Linked DNA regions of Homo sapiens: all the other regions are linked to region 1. The links are contacts of gene promoters, found by promoter capture Hi-C in blood cells and fetal thymus (Javierre and others, 2016). All regions are on one chromosome and are shown on one strand. The core of a region is centred on a gene start or on the middle of the fragment in contact, and the rest is flanking DNA. Distances in the headings are between cores, read along the strand shown.

Region 1 (3,061 bases), core at 389-2,888:
TACACTTACCCCTCGAAGTCTGCCTGGGCACACACCACATGCAGATTTTGGTGCTTTCCCAACCTTCTTGGTATAAAGGTAAACAATTCTATTACCAGGGGTTCGGGACCTAGAAAGTGAAACAGTCAGTAGGTCAGCATTTTGTAGAGTAAATGACAATATATACTTAAAATTTTCAGAAATACTTACAGCCTAGTTTTGTTAGAGGCTGTATTGTAGGAAAGCCTACGTCGGTATGTCAAACGCTGGACCATTCTGAGTGCCTAAATTAAGAATAGAGTAACATCAAATCTTTCCATTGTAAAAGTAAATAAAATCTCAAAACAGTATCATGTGGTCTATTTCATTCACATACATATCCTTGTATGTAACACCCTTAAATTAAGATGTATTATTCCACATTTTAAAACTACTTGTATTTAAAGGTGACTGATAAACAAGAGGCCAAGAATGTTAGCTTTCCTGATGGTAATCAAACGTGGCACTTCCTTAACGTTCTGATGACCAGGCTCCTTACTCAGAGTCTAATTTTGTTTGGAGTGGTGTCCAGAAAAGTGCCACGAGCCCAGTTGGAGAAACACCGCTTTAAACAAAGAGCACAAAAAGTGAGCTCTGAAGTCGAATCCTTAGCTATGCCATTTACTGGGAATATAAAGGGCAAGGAGCTAGCCTCCTTATCTCTAACATGGGAATTCTGTCTACTTTATACAGCTGTCATTAGGATTAAACGACGTGGGCTATCCGTCCCAACACAATGCCTGGCACATATCAGGGTTCAATGTCTTGCCCTAAAGCACCACCTGCGTAAAGGCATACCCTTTAATACTAATTTTGATATTACACAAGTTTCTTTGGGTTATGGCACCTGCTTTCTTCCCACTTCTGGAAACATCGTGATGTTATTTAGCAAATCGGTTATACAGATATGCATACGAGCAACTTCGTTAAGGGAACTACCCAACGTAAAACATAATCAATACTTGAACTAATTTAATCTTCCCATTCCACCCCTTGTAACCACCTCATTTGTTGTCACAAGCCTCTCACTAAAATTAAACTAAAACAGAATTACCAGACACCAAAACTTGACACGTAAAACCAGTGCGAGTGATTTATGAAGCCATTATTCTGTTTGCATCTCCAAAAGCAAGACAGAAACTTCTAACACATTTTTCTCTTCCTTGACATGGGCCTTGGACGCAGAAGCCAAATAGCGAAACCACCCGAACTCGCCGGACCCTGCCCTCCCAAAGACTAAGGACACGTACAGGCGTGCTGTGAAAACGTGGGTGTAAAATATGAAAACGTTTGGCGATTTTCCAGACTCAAACCGCCAAACCACAACTCGTTAGTCTCCAAACGCTACACTTGGAATGCAGCAAAGTCCCGGGTGGTGAGCTGTGGCTACTCACGGCTTTGGAGGTGCCACCAGGAACAAGGGATTTCCAAAGATCAAAGTAAGGAACTTCCTCACCACCAACCTCCCTGTTGTGCCCCTTACCCCTACACCAGCTCAAAGGACTGCTTCTGAGAGCTCTAGGCTTCCTCAGCTCCTCGGATGGCAGCCGATTGGTAAGGAAATAAAGACAGGGAAAAGAGAACAACATCCATACCTGCAGACAACGTCCCCGGAAGAGGAAGAAAAAAGCCTTTGCCAGTTCAAAGGTCAAATAGAATTGCGCAGGACAGGAAGTTGCGTCAGAGAGAGAGTATCCGTGTTGTACGGAAGCCGACGCACCTCTCCGACGTGGGCAGAGATGCAGGGAACCACCACGTTGTACGGCAACCAACGTGCCGCCCCTCTGTGGGCGGGGATTCACACTAGCTGTCTGTGTCAAGGCCACGCAGAAATCTATTGGAAATCGCTGTGGAAACAAACGCAAATGAAAAGCCGCAAAGAGCAAAGGTGGGACAAAATCAACTTCTTTCGTTGTCATGGACACTGCACTTTTAATCTAAAGGGCGCCAGCTCTGGCGTTAGACCTGGGTTTAAATCCCAACTCTTGACATTTATGGTTAAGGGACCTTCAAGGACCAGGGACCTTCAAGAACCTTCCCTTCTTCAACCTTCCCTTCTCTTTCCTTGTCATTTATTCAGAGCACAAGCTTTACAAACAAATTGGGATTTTAATCCAGTGTCTGCTAATTATTAGCTATGTTACTTTGAGCAAGCCCTTAAATCTCTAAAAGGAAGATATTAGGAACTACCGTGCCATGTTATGTCATGATCAAAGGCATTATGAAGTTAAAGCACTTAGCACAGGGTCTTATAGAGAGGAAGTGCTCAGTAAATGGTTGCTAATCTTATGATTATGTACAAAGAACTACTTGAGGCTTTTCATGGGTGGTAAAGTTTAACCTTTAAAACAGTATGTAAAATTTTACATTAAGCGCACGTGTGTATTTTTCTGAGAAGAGGGTCCCTGGCTTTCATCACCTTGTCAAAGGGATTCATGACCTCTAAAAAAGTAAAGAACTCTTTGCCTGGGCTGTAAAAGACAATTCTAAAAGGGGCCTTTAAGTTTTTAATCTTAGATCAGGCTCCCTGGAAACACACCTCGAAGAGACTTGAGTGTTGGCTTATGGGGAGCGCTCTTAGAATGCACCTCCAGGAAGCTGAGAAAGGCGGGGTCAGGTGATCCACAACGTGGTTGCTGTGAGGCAGCTGCATTGCCCCAGAAGAGAGGATTTGGATAGGATATCCCAGTACCCACTCAACTTTCCTTCTAGTATTTCTAATCCATCTAGCAAACCAAGAAAGCAGGCAAGTGACTGAGGGCATGTAGTCTGTCTTGAACTGTGAGGCCTATTGATTCTATCAAGCCTCACATCACTGCCATCTTTGTCACAACACCAGATGGAAGGCTCTGGTTATATCCTTCCCTCTGCTCACTCTCAAATAGCTGCTTCTCCCCCGACCTTGTCATCAGCTACTTCCCTCCTTTCCAGTCCTTTGATTTTTGTCCTCTGAAATCCTTTTCGTCTCTGTGCCAGGCATTGAGATGGAAGCTTGCATAGAGAGACAAATGTGGTTTTTGAATAAATGCACTAATGAATGTAT
Region 2 (3,006 bases), core at 390-2,889, 4.0 Mb before region 1:
CCTGGGCAACATGGTGGGACCCCATATCTCTTAAAAATGCCAGAAAAAAAAGCCGGCCTGGTGATGCTTGCCTGTGTTCTCAGCTACTGGGGAGGCTGATGGAGGATCGCTTGGGTGGGGCTGAGGGGGTGGAGGTGGGGGCAGAAGTTGGAGTGAGCAGACATGGAGCCAGTGCATTCCTGCCTAGGGAAAAAAGATAGACCTTGCCTCAAAAAAATGAAACAAAAAATAACATTGAGCTAGGTGAAATGCCTTCTTGTATGAACTAAAGTATAGCACTCTCGAGTTACACATGATGAATGGTTATTGAAGCAATTAAATCCCAAAATACTTAAAAGCTTTGATTTGAAATTGCTTATTTAATATAGCCTAAACTGTTACCAACAGTCTTTATTTAGAAGATTGTCATTCACTAAATAAAAATTAGAACAGATTACACGGAACACACTTACAGAAACGAATATACACATTATAGAATATACTATTTTAGGCTGGGTGTAGTGGCTCACGCCTGTAATCCCAGCATTTTGGGAGGCTGAGGTGGGCAGATCACAAGGTCAGGAGTTCGAGACCAGCCTGGCCAACACAGTAAAATCCCATCTCTACTGAAAATACAAAAATTAGCCGGGCATGGTGGTGCTTGCCTGTAGTCCCACCTACTCGGGAGGCTGAGGCAGGAGAATCACTTGAACCCAGGAGGCAGAGGTTGCAATGAGCTGAGATCATGCCACTGCACTCCAGCCTGGGCAACAGAGCAAGACTCCAACTCAAAAAAAAAAAAAAAAAAAGAATATATTATTTTATAAGTAAATTTAAAGGCAACCATATCTAAAAATTGGTTCCTTTACTGAAGCAAACTTACATCCATCTCTAGATTTTTCTATCTGTTCTCGAAGAAATCTATCCTTGTGAAGATTTGCATCCCCAAACCAGAAGTCCACTTGCTTAGCAATATCTGCAAGCACCTGTTTAACTCGTGACCGTTTCTTTTTTTCAACTTCTTTTTTCTTTTCAGTGCTTTCTTCTTCCATTACCTTTTCCTGATTTCCACTTTCAGTTTCCATTCCTGTGAATTACAAGAAAAAGATGTAAATATTTAAATCACCACAATAGCTAATATAGTTAAATATTTAGATTAGCCTTTAACTGTCTGAGAGAATAATGGACTCACATTTGGCCATCAGAAGACAAACAGAAAGAACATTCATTTTTATATTTAATAAATTAAATTTAAAAATAATTTACCTTCTATGTTAGGGATCATAGCTTTAGTTTCTTTGTACCTTTTAAAACACAGGGCCAGATTATCCTAGAATAATATAAAAAATTACACCTTTATCTCACTAAGCTGCACTTTTAAGTCAGTAAGTGAAAAGTGTAAGATTAAGGGACGTGGACACTCTCCATCGCAACACCCCCTCCTCTCCATCGCAACACCCCCCCGCCCCCGCCCCACCCCAGAGAAGTTGTATTCGCTTTTTTTTTTTTTCTTGGAGACAGTTTCCCTTTTGTTGTGCAGGCTGGAGTGCAGTGGCGTGAACTTGGCTGACTGCAACCTCCATCTCCCGGGTTCAAGCAATTCTCCTGCCTCAGTCTCCCAAGTAGCTGGGACTACAGGCACATGCCATCATGCCCGGCTAATTTTTGTATTTGTAGTAGGAGACGGGGTTTCACCATGTTTGCCAGGTTTGTCTTGAATTGCTGTCCTGGTGATCTGCCCGCCTCCGCCTCCCAAAGTGCTAGGATTACAGACATGAGCCGCCGCGCCTGGCAATTTTGATTTTTAAAATGTTAATTTCTGCTTTCTAGGGGCAGAATTCAACTGGTAAGCTGTAGAAATCAGCCTCTTCTCTCTTCTCTTTCTTCTTCTCTTCTCTTTTCTTTGAGGCAGTCTTCCTCTGTTGCCCAGGCTGGAGTGCAGTGGCATGATCTCAGCTTACTGCAAGCTCTGCCTCCTGGGTTCAAGCGATTCTCCCTGCCTCAGCCTCCCAAGTAGCTGGGAATACAGGCACCACTGCCAATCACACCCGGCTAATTTTTGTATTTTTAGTAGAGACAGAGTTTCACCATGTTGGCCAGGCTGGTCTCGAACTCCTGACCTCAGGTGATTCGCCAGCCTCAGCCTCCCAAAGTGCTGGGATTATAGGTGTGAGCCACCGCGCCCAGCCATAAATCAGCCTTTTCAAGTGGCCTTCTCATCCCAGTGTTTATTTCTTGGGCAGCAATTTCTAACCCCCTCCTTCCTCAAGTTACTTTCAGTATCTCTTCCCCTTTGCTTTGTCAGCTCCAGCCATACAGTCCTTGCACTTCTTGAAGCTCACCCAGCAATGTCTAACGGGGTCTTTTAAACCTGTTCTCTTTGAAACACATATCCCCAGAGATAACACAGCTTGCTCTCCTACTTCAAGTGTTTATTTAAATGTCACCTCAGTGCGGTCCCCTCCCACAATCATATTTAATAATGCAAATTTCTGGATACATACACAGTAACTCCCCTGCCTTATTTTTGTTCATAGCATTTATCATCTTCTAACATTACTATCACCACTATGCAATTTATTTCTTTGTTGTTTATCCTTCCTAGATGGTAAGATCAATGAAATCAGAGATTTTTGTTTGTTTACTGATATATTGTCAGTCCCTGCCATACAGTCACTTAAAAATGTGTTGAATAAATTGTGCCTCGATTTTGTTGAATGAATTGAATCACTAGTGGTATAGGAGCAAAGGATTAATATCAGGCCTGGGATAATACAGGCTGCTTGAGAATAACCTCAGTCTCCTATAATACAGTCTTCTTGGAAACTGGAGAGACTAATGGGGGTGTTGTATCTGTTTCCCATGTTGCACCTGGTTTGGAGCAGCTATTAGATGGCATGGAGGCCTTATGCCTACGTGACCAGAACAACAGATTGATAGGCAAAAGAGGTTAAAGCTTTCACGTGTCAAAGTGTCCTAAATACACCATGGTCCTTATCTAGGGAAGGCATACATGCCTGTTGTGGG
Region 3 (3,113 bases), core at 394-2,893, 3.1 Mb after region 1:
GTTCCTGGCACAGAGTAATCACTCAATATTACATCACTATACTAAAAAATCATGATAGTAATTCTTGACGGGATAAATGAAGGCATGAATAAATGTATGAATTAACGAGTGGCAGTGAGCTCTTCAGGGGTGGTGGGTCTTGTCTCACTCGTCTTTGAGCTGCGGCCTCGCTGAGGGCATAGTGCGCACAACTGGCTGGTGTTCCAGATTCCACTGGCAGGGACCAGGATCGCAGCCCGAGCGCCGGGGCGGGAGGGATGACTCCGGACGGTAGGGGGCACCGGCGTGCGGCCCGGCCGAGCCCCCAGGTAGCTCCGCGCGCACAGCAGGACCGTCATTGACGCCATGAGCGCGCTGCTGCGGCTGCTGCGCACGGGTGCCCCAGCCGCTGCGTGCCTGCGGTTGGGGACCAGTGCAGGGACCGGGTCGCGCCGTGCTATGGCCCTGTACCACACTGAGGAGCGCGGCCAGCCCTGCTCGCAGAATTACCGCCTCTTCTTTAGTAAGTAGCTCCCGGAGGTTCGCCGAGCGGCGCACCGGAGAAACCTGGGTGGGGGATGGAATGGGGGACACTTGGGACGCCCCGCGCGGTCTCCCTTCTCTCTTTTTGGGGCCCTCAGCGGTAGCCGCGCGGTCCAGGCCACCTTACTTCCCGCGGGAGCGCGCACCGAGTCACGAGAACTGCCAGCGAGGAGGCGGCGGATCAAGACCCCAAAGCGGAGAGCAGAGGCGCAGGGCTGCCGGCTGGGGGGTAGATAGCGCCCTGTGCCCTGCCAGCCGCCCTCCCCGAGGGGTAGGCAGAGTGCAAGCGGCCACCCCGCGGCGGCCTGCAGCCATTAGCCGGCCCGGCCGCCGTTCCCGGTTCACACAACTCAGTGAGGAAGGGAAGGCAGAGCCCGCCCACACGCCGGCCTTCCTAGAGGCGTAAGAAACCTCCTACTGCGGGAGCTCCCTGACGTCGGAGAGGCAGGCGGAACTTTGCGGATGCCTAATCCAGCGCGTCTTCTTTTTTTGGAGGGACTCTGATGAAGGTTCTTTCCCCAGAAGCTTGACTTGGTACGCACAAGTTTACACCCTGAGTGTGATCCACCATCCAAAGCCTCGTTGGTTCCGGAGCAGCCCCTTTTCCTCCCCAAGCTGAACAAGCCCAGAAGGCTAAGCGACTTCGGGGGGGTCCCTGAGTTGCCGAGCTCAGAGAAAGGACCCAGGTCTTCGTGACTCATTGTTCCGTGTACCCCATTGTTTCACTGTGTACGTTAACCGTAACAGAAAATAGCGATGTCGGTCGCTTGCCTTCACTCCCCACTGACTGCAGAGCCTTGGAGTGGTAGTATCAAAGTGGGCCTTGCATTATCGCTCCCCTTTTCGGAGCACTGGCTCTGGAGGCTTTCAGTTCTAAGCAGGCCCTCGAGTTCTTCACGTCTTAACTCTGTGACCCCGGACGAGTTTAAGTTGCTAAGCCTTGTTTTTTCTCATCCGTAAAATAGGGCTGCAAGTATTACATGACATTATATATGTAAACTGATTAGTCACAGGGCCTAAAATATAAATTACTATTGTTAATACCGATAATCATTATAGATATTTGTAATTTATGAGAGATTTGCAGTTATGCTACATGAGTTTAGGGTCGAGGATTATTTTGTGGGAAAGAAGAGTTTGCCTAAAGTCGTGTGATTATAATGCAACTAGTACTAGAATTTCTATTTTCTTCAAAATTGGTTGCAGTTTTCACCCTATGCCACATATTTTCTTCTATCTTTGGTTAAGACTGATCAGGTGAACAGGAAGTCTCAAATTTCTGAATGGATTATGTTCTAAAAGGTTACCATGTGATGATTAATGGGAATAGTCAGAAAAAATTATGAAGTGGCAGTTCGCTTTTTAAGCAGATTGAAAAAAGGCCTGTCTACTGCAAGTATTCTAGATTTGCAATAAGTACGGTAATTAATAGATACCCAAATAATAAATATTTATGAAGTGTGCTAGACACTGTTAGGCATAGTACAGAGATTCACAATATTACTATAATTATGGAAAAAGTAAATACACTGGTTGAGCAAAAACAGGCTTGAGAAGCCAGGAGCGCACAGAGTAGTTGACCCAGTACCGGATTTGGAATGGGGAGTCCTAGGCCATAATCTTGGCTCTGCCGTTAACTCGCTGTGTGCTGTTGGGTGGGTGGTTACTTCAGTTCTTTCTCACAGAGCCAGTTTCTTCAGCTGTAAAATGAAGCTTTTGACCTTGAAACGATGATCCTCAAGGTCCTTCTCAGCACTGGTATTCCCTGAAGGCATTGGATGAATAACGGAGATTCTAACAGTCTCTGTTAAGACAGGATGTCGAATGGGGGCATTTTTGGGAGTATGTTGGCCTCTTATTGTTGGTTTGTTTCTTTAGCTGCAAATGTACTTAGGACTCATGATTTTTCTGTAACTAGAGTGCCACAAATAAAATACGTTTTTCATTCAGTTGGATAAACAGGGCAGGAAAGAAGAAAACCCGATTTTACTAAGGTAAATGGGCAAAAACTGGAAGAAAGGGGAGTGTGGTTTTGGAGAGGGTCCCGATGGTAAGATCCTGATTGGAAGGTGTGTTGGTTAAACAATTTCTGAACTAACCGCCAGATGGCATCACTGGCCAGGACTGTTTACTACCTGCTAGAAGGGGTAGGGCAAAGTGAAACGAAGCCACTCTAGGGCGAATGGGGTAAGGGGAAAGCAACGAATAAATTGCCCTTTATAAAGATGATCACAGATTGGATATTTATTACTCAGTGTGTCTGTATGCAGTACTAGGGTGGACTAATGTCTCACTTCAAAAAAAATATGAGTGTAGTATACTTGGCCTAAAATTGTTACTCAGTGTTACTAAAGTGTAATCATTTTCCACATCTCCAAATATATTCCAAGTCTCTGAAATACTAGTGCATTGGGAGGTAGAACATTTTCGAGCTTCATGTCTGTAAATGGTTTCTCTTTACTGTCATTCAGTAAAATCAGAATAAATGATTGATGTAATACTTAAAAAAAAATTGGTGTTAAACTTTGTAGAAAGAGTGAGACAGGATGATTAGGGGAAAGGGTATCCTGATGGGAATCATCAGGCCTCCT
Region 4 (2,700 bases), core at 184-2,683, 3.6 Mb before region 1:
AAAGATTCAAATTATGATCATTTACTGCAATTTATTTATGTTGAACATCTTATTACCCAATAATGTTAGTTAAATGGAACAGATTATGAAAAATTAGCAATCTGTTTCAGAAAGTGCAAAACAGTCTTAGTCCTTACACAAACTGGCTTGGTTCAGATTTTCAATTCTAGGTTTGAATTCCGGAGGGACATTTAATAACAACAAAGCCAACCCCAAAGGAATTTGCTCTAATTTTTTCAATATATATGAAATAAAAAAACACAAAAACGGAATTATGAAATTACTATTCTGTGGATGGTGCATATACAAAACCTAAGCAATATCCCAGGTTTACTCAAGAGAAGTGAAGTTCAGAAGGACTGCAATTTACCTAATGTTACAGGACGTTTGAGTAGCAATCAGGGCAAGGAATTCCTCTCGAAATTTCAAAAACTTAATACGAAAAAATTACACATTGTCCCTGTAGTTATGAGCACCAAGAATCTGAATGCCCATTGGGAACTCTGCAATTCAGCAAGTCTTTGTAGCTACCAGAGTTCATCAGTATCTGGAACCTTATTTTACTCCAGCATCCAAATGACTTCTACTTAAAATCAATCTGAGGCATTAACTCCGGAGCCAGATCCCACCTGCTCTGCCAGGGCTAAAGAGAGGGTCAGATACAGGGATACTAGCTTTGGCGTTAAACCTAAGCTCAGCGCAGGGTGTGTCCAGGTTGCCGTGGAGCCGGTCCTACAGCCCATTAGCGCGAAGCTACCCCTTGTTTCCTGGAGATGATGTCTCCCGTGACTCCTTCCCCGCGTGACAGGGCGCCCTGGCAGGAGGGACACCCCGCCCCCTCTTCTACCTCTTTCCGAGGAGGCCCCAAGACCGGACCCCAGACTGGGCCTCCAAGACGACCACCAGTCTGACGTCTGCTAAGCAGTGAGTGTAGCAGGGCTCTCGACCGCCACCTCCAGCCGCCGGGGGACGGTGAAAGGGATTCCCCGCCGGGGGCCGAAGAGGAGGAGCCACGGGGGCCGGGCCCCTCCCCCAGCGGGCTTACCCTCCGCCGCCGCCTACTCGCTGCAGCCGCCCCGCTTCCTTGCGAAGCAGTCCGAAGCACTGCGTCCAGCAGCAGTTCCCCATCGCATGCCGCCCAGGCGCCGCCGCTCCTCCTCCTCCTCCCGCTCAATGCCCAAACCCAGGCCCGGCAGCTGCATCCGCACGGCACGAGCCGAAATGGGGTTCAAGGACCGAGGGCGGGCCGGCCAGAGCCCGGCGGCGTGAGGGCACGGGGCGACGAAAGACGAGGCGCTAGGGAACAAAGGCAGTGTTTACTCCAGCGGCCGCAGAGCCACCGCTGCGCGAGGGAGGAGCACCGGGCTCAAGGCTCTGGACTCCCTCGCCGTCCGCATGGCCCTTCTCGCCTCAGCTCCTAGCCCAGCGTGAGTGACCGCCTCCAGCTGCCGAAGGAGGCCAGTCCCCGCGAGCCGAGCACCCTGGCCCCGCCCCCAGCGCGCCCAGGCCCCTGCTCGCCGCCAACGCTGCCACACCCCCGGCCTCTCCCGCGCCCCAATTGGGCGCGCTACCTCGGTGCCCCGCCTTCTCTGGCGACCGGCCTGTGCGTCACTTCCGCTCGCTCCTGGTTCAGCCGCCTCTGCCTGCGAGACGGTTCAATTCCTGCGTGCGGACGTTTGTTTTGTTGGACCTTGACCTGACTAGGAAATTTCCCTCTCTCATTGCAGTTTCGGGCATCCTCGTCCGGAGCACGCTGGGCGTGGCATGGCTAAGGCTCAGCCTTCGAACTTTGTATCAAAGGCGTGTGAGGAGCCAGAGTCCCAGGCCGGAAGTCATAAGTGCGAAGGGGCGTTTCTCTGCACGGTGTGCTTAGTTTTTGTTAATACTGCACCATAAGCGGAAAATAGACTCGGGAACTGATTGAGGTTACTTTGAACGCACCAAGATTTTTTTCCGGTCTCTGGTTTGTGTCTTAATTTCCATACTGTTAATGTTTTAGGGAAACGTAATAATGGTGCATTATTGTCCTCGTTTTGTTTGAAAATCAGATCTTCACATAATTTTGGGTTGGGTAGTTGGGGTTCAGAGGAAATTGGCAAGAGGGCTGGGGTTTTTCGGGGACGTCAGCGTTGCCATTCCAAGCATGCTGCCCAGAACTGCTGTAGATGGGAAGAGAAAGCTGCTCTAATGTGTCCGCAGCCCTCTCAAGTGCTACCATATAATTCGCGTCTTGTTTGGCCTCAAGACAGTTGGCCTCACAATAGATATAAGATGTGGTTTAGTAGACACCTCGTCCAGTGGATAGGAGGATGCTCTCATGGACTGGACACATCAAGTTTTTAGCCTGTTTAATTAAACCTAGAAAAATTGTTACATTTTAGAAAGTTTTTATTGATGATAAAATGTTCTCTGAACTCATTTTCTTGCTTCTTTAAATACGTATCTGGTTTCAATCTTAGCACTGCTACTTACTAATGTTTATTTTATTTGGGTTTTAGTTGTTTTGTAATCAGAAGCATAGGATAACATTTGTCCCAATGGTTTGCTTTCAGTGAATGTTGGGATGACCGAATGACTTCCTAGTGAAAGCATTTTCTTTTCTCCTTCCAACCCCTGAAATTAGACAAATGTATTAATGAAATAATCATTAAAATTCAACTATAAATGTTTACAGAAACTGGTACATCTATCCTATGGAAT

The links. Contacts are between HindIII fragments. The CHiCAGO score rates a contact against its expected background, and 5 or more counts as called.
Region 2: a contact is called between a fragment that was not itself captured here and the fragment with the promoter of RPL34 in region 1, in 2 of 17 cell types (neutrophils and total B cells). The highest score is 7.8, in neutrophils.
Region 3: a contact is called between a fragment that was not itself captured here and the fragment with the promoter of RPL34 in region 1, in 1 of 17 cell types (total B cells). The highest score is 6.4, in total B cells.
Region 4: a contact is called between the fragment with the promoter of AP1AR here and the fragment with the promoter of RPL34 in region 1, in 1 of 17 cell types (neutrophils). The highest score is 5.9, in neutrophils.

Annotation. Positions count from the first base shown.
Region 1 is chr4:108,619,153-108,622,213 of GRCh38, reverse strand. It overlaps RPL34 (ribosomal protein L34), which reads right to left and starts at 1,638. Exons shown (of 5, transcript NM_001319236.2): 1 at 1,614-1,638; 2 at 190-263; 3 at 10-109. The coding sequence starts at 254. RPL34-DT (RPL34 divergent transcript) reads left to right here and starts at 1,757. Exons shown (of 4, transcript NR_026968.1): 1 at 1,757-1,906. RefSeq lists enhancers at 1,626-1,675, 901-2,100. The HindIII fragment of the contact is 3,742 bases long and covers 1-2,108 here.
Region 2 is chr4:112,642,728-112,645,733 of GRCh38, reverse strand. It overlaps LARP7 (La ribonucleoprotein 7, transcriptional regulator), which reads right to left. Exons shown (of 13, transcript NM_016648.4): 2 at 863-1,066. The coding sequence starts at 1,064. Among named protein-coding and RNA genes, the nearest start is that of MIR367, 3.7 kb to the left of the region's middle. RefSeq lists a silencer at 1,928-2,029. The HindIII fragment of the contact is 2,597 bases long and covers 341-2,937 here.
Region 3 is chr4:105,471,283-105,474,395 of GRCh38, reverse strand. PPA2 (inorganic pyrophosphatase 2) reads left to right here and starts at 334. Exons shown (of 12, transcript NM_176869.3): 1 at 334-502. The coding sequence starts at 346. RefSeq lists a silencer at 144-353 and enhancers at 574-693, 984-1,153. The HindIII fragment of the contact is 1,188 bases long and covers 1,050-2,237 here.
Region 4 is chr4:112,230,520-112,233,219 of GRCh38, reverse strand. It overlaps AP1AR (adaptor related protein complex 1 associated regulatory protein), which reads right to left and starts at 1,433. Exons shown (of 10, transcript NM_018569.6): 1 at 1,046-1,433. The coding sequence starts at 1,128. AP1AR-DT (AP1AR divergent transcript) reads left to right here and starts at 1,070. Exons shown (of 1, transcript NR_186684.1): 1 at 1,070-2,700. RefSeq lists enhancers at 639-688, 713-1,660 and silencers at 899-1,168, 1,329-1,608. The HindIII fragment of the contact is 11,290 bases long and covers 1-2,700 here.